4 separate regions of the Homo sapiens genome follow, and regions 1, 2 and 3 are each linked to region 4. Evidence: promoter capture Hi-C in 16 types of primary human blood cells and fetal thymus (Javierre and others, 2016). All regions are on one chromosome and are shown on one strand. The core of a region is centred on a gene start or on the middle of the fragment in contact, and the rest is flanking DNA. Distances in the headings are between cores, read along the strand shown. Region 1 has its middle 71 kb from the start of TGFA-IT1. Region 2 has its middle 72 kb from the start of FAM136A. Region 3 holds the start of FIGLA (folliculogenesis specific bHLH transcription factor). Region 4 holds the start of TGFA (transforming growth factor alpha).

Evidence for each region. The method cuts DNA at HindIII sites, captures the fragments that hold promoters and counts their contacts. A CHiCAGO score of 5 or more calls a contact.
Region 1: a contact is called between a fragment that was not itself captured here and the fragment with the promoter of TGFA in region 4, in 2 of 17 cell types (M1 macrophages and M2 macrophages). The highest score is 5.4, in M1 macrophages.
Region 2: a contact is called between a fragment that was not itself captured here and the fragment with the promoter of TGFA in region 4, in 2 of 17 cell types (M2 macrophages and M0 macrophages). The highest score is 6.0, in M2 macrophages.
Region 3: the fragment with the promoter of FIGLA here is called in contact with the fragment with the promoter of TGFA in region 4 in 3 of 17 cell types (M2 macrophages, naive CD8 T cells and naive B cells); the score reaches 5.9 in M2 macrophages.

Annotation. Positions count from the first base shown.
Region 1 is chr2:70,409,298-70,411,997 of GRCh38, forward strand. No RefSeq gene overlaps it. Among named protein-coding and RNA genes, the nearest start is that of TGFA-IT1, 71 kb to the right of the region's middle. The HindIII fragment of the contact is 2,132 bases long and covers 319-2,450 here.
Region 2 is chr2:70,372,743-70,375,442 of GRCh38, forward strand. No RefSeq gene overlaps it. Among named protein-coding and RNA genes, the nearest start is that of FAM136A, 72 kb to the left of the region's middle. The HindIII fragment of the contact is 6,977 bases long and covers 1-2,700 here.
Region 3 is chr2:70,789,362-70,792,091 of GRCh38, forward strand. FIGLA (folliculogenesis specific bHLH transcription factor) reads right to left here and starts at 1,282. Exons shown (of 5, transcript NM_001004311.3): 1 at 1,047-1,282. The coding sequence starts at 1,277. The HindIII fragment of the contact is 3,375 bases long and covers 721-2,730 here.
Region 4 is chr2:70,552,393-70,555,092 of GRCh38, forward strand. TGFA (transforming growth factor alpha) reads right to left here and starts at 1,434. Exons shown (of 6, transcript NM_003236.4): 1 at 1,336-1,434. The coding sequence starts at 1,375. LOC124907824 (a long non-coding RNA gene) reads left to right here and starts at 316. Exons shown (of 2, transcript XR_007086906.1): 1 at 316-1,000. RefSeq lists a silencer at 1,495-1,564. The HindIII fragment of the contact is 13,094 bases long and covers 5-2,700 here.

The sequences.
Region 1 (2,700 bases), core at 135-2,634, 140 kb before region 4:
ACACGCATGGTCAACTGATCCTCAACAAAGGTGCTAAAAATACAGAATGGGGAAAGGATAGTCTTTTTCATAAATGGTGTTGGGAAAACTGGGTATCAACATGCAATAAAAAAATTTGATTTTTATCTTACACCACACACAAAAATCAACTCAAAATAGATGAAAGACTTAAATGTAAGACCTGAACTATAAAACTCCTATAAGAAAACATAGGAGAAATCTTCATGCATTGGTCTGGGTCATGATTTTCTGGATATATCCCCAAAAGCACAGGCAACAAAGGCAAAAATAGAACAATGAGACTGCATCAAACTAAAAAGCTTCTGCACATCAAAAGAAGTAATTAATAGAGTGAAAAGGCAGCCTATAGAATGGGAGAAAATGTTTGTAAACCATATATCAAATAAGGGGTTAATTTCCAAAATATATAAGGAAAACAGCTAATAACCAATTTAAAAATGGGCCAAATACTTGAACAGACATTTCTCCAAAGACAACACACAAATGGCCAATAGCTATATGAAAAGATGCTGAACGTCACTAGTTATCAGGGAAACAAATCAAAACCACACTGTTAGGATGGCTATTATGAAAAAGACAAAAGATAACAAGTGTTGGAAAATACATGGAGAAATTGGAGTACTTGACACTGTTGGTGGGAATGCAAAACGTTACAGCCTCTATGGAAAGCAGTATGAAGACTCTCCCTAAAATTAAAAATAGAACCACCATATGATTCAGCAGTCCCATTTCTGGATATATATACACACAAAGGAATTCAAATTAGGATCTCAAAAATGTATTTGCACTCCCAACTTCACTGCAGCATTATTCACAATAACCAAGATGTGGAAACAACCTAAATGCCCAATGTTGAATGAATAGAAAGGAAATATGGTTTATAGATACAATGGAATATTATTCAGCTTTAAAAAAGAAGGAAATCTTTCAATTTTCAACAATGCAGAAGAACCTGGAGAACATTATGCTAAGTGAAATAAGCCAGGCACATACAGACAAATAGTGCATGATCTTACATATATATATGGAATCTAAAATAGTCATGTTTATAGAATCAGAATTGTGGTTATCAGGAGGAAATGAGGAGTTGCTAATTGCAACAGGTATAGTCTTAATTACACAAGCTAAATAAGTTCTAGAGATCTGTACAACACTGTTCCTATAGTTAACAATACTGTATTGTACTCTTAAACATTTAACACAGTAATCTGTTAAGTGCTCTTACAATTACATATATGTGTGTATATATATATATATAATGTGTGTGTGTATTTGGCTAGTACTTAGTGCCACTAACCCTGAGATGGAGGTTAGTGGTACTAAGTCCTAGCCAAATACTTTCTCATGGTAACTAACAAATAACAACTAGGGTTGATGAAGGATCTTGGAGTTCAGCTAGCTGAGTGCCGACTAAAGTACCTGAGGATACCTCTTCTGAGGAAGAGATAATTTAGGAAGGACATACAAGCTGTCTTTAAGTGTTAGGAAGCATTATGTCAAACAGGGATTAGTTTCATTCATTATCACTCTAAAGCTCTACTCTCCACTTTTAAAAAATTGTTCACCCATAACAGTAAAATATTTTCAGTACTCTTCCGGCAAGTATATATTTATTTACAAGTTATATGCACATTAATTGTTAGCAGAGTTGAAGTTCTTTTTTGTTTTTAAGATGGAAAATAAGCCGTCTTTGTATTTTCCCCCCACTCTGGAGGGTGACTTGTGCTGCCCCTGGAATGTGCACACCCTGATATGGAGACCACGGTTTTGTGGGGACAGCTAGTACCAGCAGGAGAATTTCAAGAAAGTTGATTCTGGCCTTACTGGATTGTCATATCTATAGCCCTCTCCTATGGTAGAGCCCCAGGAATTAATTTTTCCAAGAGCAGTTATTTCTGGGGTTGTGCGATCCCGACACCTGATTAGACCAAGGTTGGTGCCCAGGCCAAAGCAAGCATGGACATAAAGGAAGAACATAAAAGAAGCTGTTGCATATCAGGTGGCATGTGAGTTGGGCCCTTCAGGAAGCAGATGCCAAGATGGAATTAAAAGAGCAACAGATGTACTGGAGGGAAATGTTTGGGAAGGATACAGGGGACAGGAAGCAGGAGTAGACAGAAAGATCCTGTAGACCATGAAGCTCGTCTGACACCAGAGAAAGGAGAGAGGGAAAGGAGGATTGTGTAGGAAGAGCCTCAGGCTGCAGGGCATCTGAGAAAAATCTCAGCTGGATGGGTGGGGAGTCTTCAGATGAGGTTGCCTGCTGGAAGAGTCCTTTGTCAGGAAACAGTGCCCTATCTCTGCTTCCCTTGCTGTGTTCAGTGACTGACTGGGAGTAGCCCATTCGGTGTGGGGCTTGTGAAGGCTGTGGTGGATCCTGAGGTGCAGCCGCTAGAGGCTGTCCACTGACTACACCCTCCCAGAAGGGAAGCTTGGAAAGAGCATTTCCACGGGGTTCTGAATTGCATGCTGACAAATTGACCCAACCAGATTTGCTCCCTTGTGAAGAACAAATGCCTGCTGCTAAGGATAGACGACTCACCCGGTCCTTGGGAATGCTTATAGGACCTCAATGACACTTGGCTCTTGTTTCAGTTCCCTGTGAGTGACCCCTGCAATCCAGGCAGAGTCCTGTCTTGGAATTCCTGCCTCCTCCCTTCTGCATGTGACCTTACCCTA
Region 2 (2,700 bases), core at 188-2,687, 180 kb before region 4:
TAACTTTCCCCCCCCACATGTATTAGTCAGGCTTTACCACAGAAACAGAGTCAACAAGATGTGTATATATGGAAAGATTATAAGGAATTGGTTCATATGATTATGAAGGATGGCAAGTTCAAAATCTGCCAAGCCAATGTCCCAGTTCAAGTCTGAAGACCAGTAGGCTGCTGTAGAACCAGGAAGAGCTGATGGTCCTGTTTGAAGATCTGTCAGATAGGAGAAGGCACTCTTGCTTGGGAGAGGGTCAGCCTTTTAGTCTATTCAGACCTTCTACTGATTGGGTAAGGCCCACTCACATTATGGAAGAGTGGGGGGATCTGCTTTACTCAGTCTACTGATTTAAATGTTAATCACATCCGAAAACACCCTCACAGAAACAGCCAGAGTAATGTTTGGCCAAATATCTGGGCATCCTATGGTCCAGTCAAGTTGGTACATATTAATCATTATATCAGGTATGATTTGATTTTTTCCATTTAGCTTAATAATTCTGGAATTGATTTTGATATATGTTATATCTGATATATAGTACAAGGTAAGGACCTAAATTGATTTATTTTGCAACTAACTAACCAATCATCCCAACACTCTATATTATTTCTTTCCATTCTCATTGGTTTAGGTCTCATTTCTGTTGAGTTTTAGTTTAACAGGCATTCTTCTTTAATCATGTCTCAATCTTATTTTTCATATACAATTTATCTAGGCTATTTCATTATTTATCTATTTAACTGAGTATCTTTAATAGAAAATACTTTTTAGCATACCACATATTGAACAATTTACAATAAAATCACACCATAACATTTACTCTTGAAACAACAAAATCATATCCAAACATAAATTTCCTAAATTAGGTGCTTTACTTAGGTGTAAATTGGGGTATTCATCAAAAGGGGGTGCATAATTTTCAGTGTTTATGCCAAATTTACCATGTACTCATATTGTATGAATTAAGCTATGTATAAAAATATTTTGGGGGCCGGCATGGTGGCTCACGCCTGTAATCCCAGCACTTTGGGAGGCCAAGGCAGGCGGATCACCTGAGGTCAGGAGCTCGAGACCAGCTTGACCAATATGGTGAAACCATGTCTCTACTAAAAATACAAAAATTAGCTGGGCATGGTGGTGCATGCCTGTAATCCCAGCTACTTGGGAGGAGGCTGAGGCAGGAGAATCGCTATATACATATATATAGCAGTTAAATATGTATATCATCCAATTTTTATTAGAAAATAACTGACATATAATATTAACTACTGAAAAAATAGCAAACCCCATGCTATGGGTTGAATGTTTTCTCCAAAACTCCTGTTGGAATTTATTCCCCAGTTGAGAGGTGGGACCTTTAAGAGATGATTGGATTATGAGGATGCTGCCCTTATGAATGGATTAATACATTCGTGAATCAATGGATTCATGGGTTAATGGGCTAATGGATTAATGAATTATCATGGAAGTGGAACTGGTGGCTTTATTTTTTTTGAGACAGAGTTTCGCTCTTGTTGCCTAGGCTGGAGTGCAATGGTGCGATCTCAGCTCACAGCAACCTCTGCCTCCCAGGTTCAAGTGATGATTCTCCTGCCTCAGCCTTATGAGTAGCTGGGATTACAGGTAGCCCACCACCATGCCCAGCTACTTTTTGTATTTTTAGTAGAGATGGGGTTTTGTCATGTTGGCCAGGTTGGTCTGGAACTCCTGACCTCAGGTGATCCTCCTGCCTTGGCCTCCCAGAGTGCTGGGATCACAGGCATGAGCCACTGTGCCCGGTGGGACTGATGGCTTTAAAAGAAAAGGAAGAGACCTGAGCTTGTTAGCATGCTCAGCACCCTCACCATGTGATACCCTGTGTTTCAGGACTCTGCAGAGACCCCAGAAAGCTCTCACCAGACACAGCTCCTCAACCTTGGACTTCTTAGCCTCCACAACTGCAAGAAATACATTTCTTTGCTTTGTAAATTACCCAGTTTCAGGTATTCTATTATAAGCAACAGAAAATGTACTAAGATACCCTGCTTTGACTCCCTAGGCACGTTCTCGTTGGCTGGCACCATCTGTGACAAATCCTGAACTGTATTGTTTACAGACACAGCTGCAGCCTGCATTGGCACCAAAGTCAATTACTGATGTTGTGCTCTTTGCAGCCCTGGCCCTTGCTAATTCTTCTTGGAAGGAAGAGATGTGAAGACAGGTTGCAAATGTAGGAGTGGTAAGAATAACCAATAGTTCATGTCTCCTCTATCTTATTAACCCTCTCCCCATCTTTAGACTCCTCCAGATACTACTCTCTCTCCATCCATATCATCCATACCTGTGGCTTCAACTAAAGGGTTGGCTCTTGAACCCACATTTCCATTCTATATCTCACTCCTGAGCCCAAATTTACATTTGAGTGTTTAATGTTTACCTAAAGCTGTAAGTCAGCCTGATACTCCACAGACTGTACATCTCCTAAATAATACATGTGAACTGGTACTTTTTGAGACTGTCTCACTCAGTCGCCCAGGCTAGAGTGCAATGGCATGATCATAGCTTACTGTAGCCTCAAACCCGTAGGCTCAAGGGACCCTCTTACCTCAGCCTCCTGAGTAGCTGAGACTACAGGCACACAGCACTATGCCAGGCTAATTTTTTAATTTTTTTATAGACACGAGGTCTTGCTATGCTATGAGGTCAGCCCAGGCTGGTCTCAAACCC
Region 3 (2,730 bases), core at 32-2,531, 240 kb after region 4:
AAGACAATTCCTTCCTGGTGGGAAGGACCACTTAAACTATTAGATCATAATCTCTTTGTAGGGCCACCGAATCAGATCACAGGGTTCTGTCCATCAAGAGTCTAGTACTGGTAAAAGAGGAGACTTAAAGAAGTCTCCTACTCTCCTGTCGTCCTTTCTGCGCTTGCCCTCTCCCTGCAAAGCTCCTACTTGATTCACTGGGACATTTCTGAAAGGCCTAGGAACAGCCCCGGGCGGTACTTCTCTCCCCAGTCCCAGTCCTGAACGTGCGCTCTGCTCCCTCTTCTACCCCTCACCCTTCTCTCTCCTGGATTCGCCTCTGCTGCAACCAAACCCGTAGACTGCAAACGCTAGGAAGGAGACCATGTCTCCCAAGTTTGGGGCTGAGTTTCGTTAGATAGTAAAATCTACCAGCAGGTGCCGCTCCAACCACGGCCCACAGGACCCTTCCCGTTTGCGAGTTGCTGCGGCTCGACTGGGAAACACTCACTTTATCTTGACAGAGTTGAGTGGGAGTCTTGGGTGCACACTGGGACGTCGTGTTTCGTTACTTTAAAAAAGAAAAGTCACTTCCGTCAGGCCCCCCTTTCTCCTCACCCTCGTGTGTGCTTCGAGGCCGAGATGCAGAGAGCAAGAAAAAGGAGCGAAGGGGATCCCTGCGCGTCCCAAGCACCCACCAGCGCCTACGGTGTGAGATGAAGGCGCACCCCCTGGGCGCGAAGCTTTTAAAGCACCTGCCCAGGGAGACATTTTTGAAGTTGTCAGGGCCCCTCCTCTGTCCCCTCCCAGACCCGGGTCCTGCACAAATCCTGGAGGGTTAGCGGGCGAGGCGGCCACCGCAGCGGCCGCCAACGAGCAGCTGCACGGAGGTGCAGAAGAAGGAGGCCACTGCCATTCTCCTGACAAGCTGGGGGCGTGGGAGGCCTCGGGAGCTCGAAGTCGCCTCGAGCGGGGGTGGGCGGTGAGCGGACCCCCGGGTGTTGACCAGGTGTTTGGTGGTAGAGCAGGGAAGGGGGGAACGGACGTCGACCCTAGGGATCCCTCACCCGCTCACGCTCCTTGGCGTTGGCCACACGCCGCCGCTCCAGCACCAACTGGAGGTTTTCAGTGGACGAGTAGCCGCCCGAGGGCAGCCGCTTGAGCCGGCAGACAGCGGCCAGCTGGGGCAGCGGCCCGAACTGCTCCCGCAACACGTCCTCCAGCACCTCGGCTTGCGGGGTGCCCAGGAGCGCGGGCGGCGCGGCGCGGGGATCTAGGACGCCGGGCGCGGGGTCCATGGCAGGGCCGAGGCCGCTGAGGCCGGGCTTTCACCTGCGCACCCGGGGCCGCACGAGGCCCGGGCGGGGGCGGGGCGGGGGCGGGAGCTGGACCACCTGCAACCATTCCCCGGCTGCGTATTCCAATCCCGGCCTCCTCTCTGGAGGCTGCGTCCAGGCATCGCGTTGAATAAGCCGCACAGGTGTGACTCGGGAGCGCTGGAGCGCAGCCCCGGCTGCACACCTGGAACCGCCGGGAGCGTGGTAGTGGTGTTTTTCTCAATCCACATGCCACGGTTCCAGTCCCCCAAATTCCCATTTAATCAATCTGTCTTGGGGCCTGAGCTTCTGGCTATGTGTATACAGAAAAATGTGATGGATATCCACAAAACTTTTTTAAGAATTCGTTTTGAAATAAAAGTTGCGGGGAAAATGGCAAGAAGAGTTTCTAAGAGCTCCTGTACCCCCTTCGCCACGCTCTCTACTTGCTAAGTTTTCACGTTTGCTCCGTTGCCCTCTTTCTCGCTGTGAATATTCTCATTTTCATTATTCTTTTTCCATTCTATTTGAACTATTTTCTTTTTTCGCGAGTGGGGGGATACATCGCTTTATTCATTTTCCCCCTTTTCCACACAGACCTTTATTGTCAACACAGCCAAACACAGTTGTTACTTCAGAAAATGTGCTGGAAAATAGCGATCCCAAACTTGTTTAATAGTAGAGTACAATTTAGTACTCTAGAAATAATTAACTACATCTTCTGTTTTGAGTAGATTACTCATGAGAGTTTGTTTCTCTGGAGGTTATCAATATAACTGGAACATTCTGATCTTGCACCTGAAAATCAGACATGTTTCTGGAAGCCCTCTGTAAAATCATTCCTTCCAAGCATAGAAATACATTTTTTTTTCTTTGGTCTGAGAAAATATTTTTTCTACGCTTTTGTTTCAGGTTCAGGGGTATATGTGCAGGTTTGTTAAGTGGGTAAATTGTGTGTTGCTGAGGTTTGGTGTACGAATGATCCCGTGGCGTAAGTAGTGAGCCTAGTACCCAATAGGTATCCTTCCAACCCACGCCCCCCTCTTACTTCCCCCTCAAGCAGACCCCAGTGTCTATTGTTTCCATCTTTGTGTCCCTGTGTATTCAATGTTTAGCTCACACTTATAAAGTGAGAACAGGCAATGTTTGGTTTTCTGTTTCTGTGTTAGTTCCCTTACAATAATGACGTCTAGCTGCATCCATTGATCTATTCTTTTTTTAAAGTTTTTAAGTTGCAGACATGCTGTCATATCACCTCTAAATACTCCAGTGGGTATTCCCCCTAAACAAGGCCTCTCTTCCACATAACCGCAACACAACCACTCAAACTAGGAAGTAAGCATTGGTACTGTGCTACCATACAATCCATGGACCCCATCAAAGTACCACCAGCTGTCTCAACAATGTCTTTTTCTCTTCTGGTTGGAATCCAATC
Region 4 (2,700 bases), core at 184-2,683:
AGGAAGCTTCCCTTGTATTGGTAATGTTTTATTGCTTTTTCTAAAATTTAAATCAGAGCAACAGTCAATACATGCACACAAAAAAGGCAATTCTTCAAAAATGTGGGGGAAAAGCCTCCCATACCCATGTTACCTGCTGGTGAGTTTCAGGTAAGGGTGTAGCTGGGAGCATCCGGTTCCAAGACTGCCTTGTATTTCTCTTACAGGATGCCTCCCCTTCTGCTGCGGTTTTTAATCAGCGTTTCTAGGGCAGGCTTGCAGGCGGGGCCGCGAACCCCCTGTAGTTGTACACGGAGCTGGGTGAGGCTGCGGCTCTGGGCATTTCTGGGGAGGAGTTCCATGGCTTTCCACAGACTCTAACCACCCTGCAGCGAGCCGCATGCTATACGGGTTAAACTCGGGGCATATCGAACGAACAATTCACTTCACGGAAGACTAGCAATAACCAGGACACCTGCGCTATTGATCAGCTATCTCAACACCAGAGAGACCCACCAGCACAAGGGGCAAGAATTGGCCAGGAGGCGCGCGGCGCTGCGCCCTCACCGCGTCCAGACAGACCCTTGAACTTCACCGCCAAAAAACGCACCGCTCCGCAGACCCGACCCGGGAGAGGGGTTTAACTTCCCCTCACCTTTCCCATCCCTCCTTCATTTCCAAGGACATACTCAAAGGAAACTGGCAACACTCGGTCTAGGGTTTCGCTCCTGCCCTCGGCGGACACCGAAACCACTTCTCCCAGGGAAGTTAATTAAAGGAACCATTAATCCGCCCAAAAATCCAAAACCTACCCCCAAAGCTCAAGAGCTCTGAAAAGAGATCGAGGGCGCCTCTGCCGATCTTGAACATCTCTGCTCGTCGCTGGGGCTTAGAGGTGGGCAGGGGGTGCCAAAGGGGCGCAGGCAAGACCCGGCCAGAGGGTTAGACGCCGGCCCCCGTTCCGAGGCGGCCCAGTCTACACGCCAGCGACGCCGGCTGAGCCGGGCTTGGAGGCAGCCAGGTAAGCAGGTAGGTGTAGGCATGTGTCTGAGCAGACACACAGCTGCGGCGGATTAAAGTTCAAGCCCGTTCACACTCCGCTTCCCCTTCCCAGGTGTTCTCACGCACGGCCCAGGCAGCCACTTTCCCGGGGAAGCCTCGGCGCTCGACCGGACAGTCCCCTCTTTGTCATTCTTAATGACTCCCCTTGCCTCCCAGGCGCCAACCCATTGAGACTACTCGCTTCTCTCCACTCTCCCAGGCGGGCGCAGAAACCCCCGGAAAGGGGAACTCGGCGGGGACCGGGGGAAGCAGGGTGTCGCGCGGCGCAGGGGGCGCCGCAGCCGGCGTACGTACCCAGAGCGAACAGGGCGAGCTGTCCAGCCGAGGGGACCATTTTACGGGCGGGCGGGCAGCAGGCTCTCCAGCCTCCTGCCCTACCTGCGGTGCCCGAGTGGCGGAGCGGCGCCGCGGTGCGGGGGAAAAAGACGCAGACTAGGCAGGGCCTGCCCCCGGCGCGGGAGGGCGGAGGGAGGACCGAGCGCCTCTCTGCTGGCACTCGCCCCGCAGCGCTGCCCGCCGGGCGGAAATAGGAAGGCGGCTACCGTCACCTCCTCGCCACTCGGCGACCGGGGCACAGCTGACCCCCCCCTCCCGCCCCGATGGGGGTGCCCCCCTGAGGGCACAGAGGGTGGGGGTTTGGGGTAAGGGGCGGGGACGCTGAGCGCACCGAGCAGGGCGCGGGCTGCTGGGCGGGGCGACCTGGGATCCCAGAGCCTGGCGGCGCGAGCCGGGCACCCGGGCCGACGAAAAGGCAGGAAGCGCCTGACTTCAGACACCACCCCCGACTGCCAGCGCCGTGCGGCAGCGGACTCCAGCGTGCGGGGTCGGCGCCGGCCGCGTAGCCGGATTGTCCTGGGCCGCAGTGGCGGCTTCCAGGCTCTAGGCGGCGGAGCGGAGCCGCCCGGGCACCCGTTACCTACACCGAGGGGCCGCTCCTGGGGCATCTCTGGGGCGGGGAAGGCTGGAGGCTGGGGACGCAGCCAGGAAAGGGACCTGTGAGTTTCGCCGGCCGCTTGCCAAGACTTGGCTCAAGGAAAGTGGTCCCCTGAATCAATGAAGAATTTGTTAAACCAGGTTTCCCACCTGTGCCACAGTTCCCATCAATTCTGGCAACGCCTGCCGCCTTACCTCCCAGGCAGGCCACATCGTTAAGATCAGTCTTCGTACTTCTGGCCTGGGACTGATAAAAAATGGGTCTCTGTGACGAATCTGGTTATATGGCACCACCAGCTGAGGCCAAAAGCCTGCTAGCCTGCCACCAAGTGTACCCCGAAAGAGGGGTGTGTGGGCCCGAGTCACCTGGGTGGTCCTTTCAGGATTTGTGGCTCTGAGGTGGCCCCTGGTGCTGGAATTTGGGGAGGTGGAGGGGATAGAGGGAAGACATTCTGGGCGAAGAGTGGAAGATCCATAGGTTCCTCGGTGACCCTCATGGGGACAGTACACCCGGGAGATTCATGTTCTCCAGGTACCCGGAGCTCACGGACTGACCCTCTTCTCCTGCCTCCTCTGGCCTACGTGCTCCGGGTAGATCCACTTTCCTTGAAGGTGGGGGTGGGGGCTGTTGGGCCTGGGGAATCTTTTGCTGTTTACTTGGGGAGGCTCAGGCTCTCACGGTTGACCTCTGCCCAGTTTGTTTCATGTAAGTAGAGCAACCTAGTT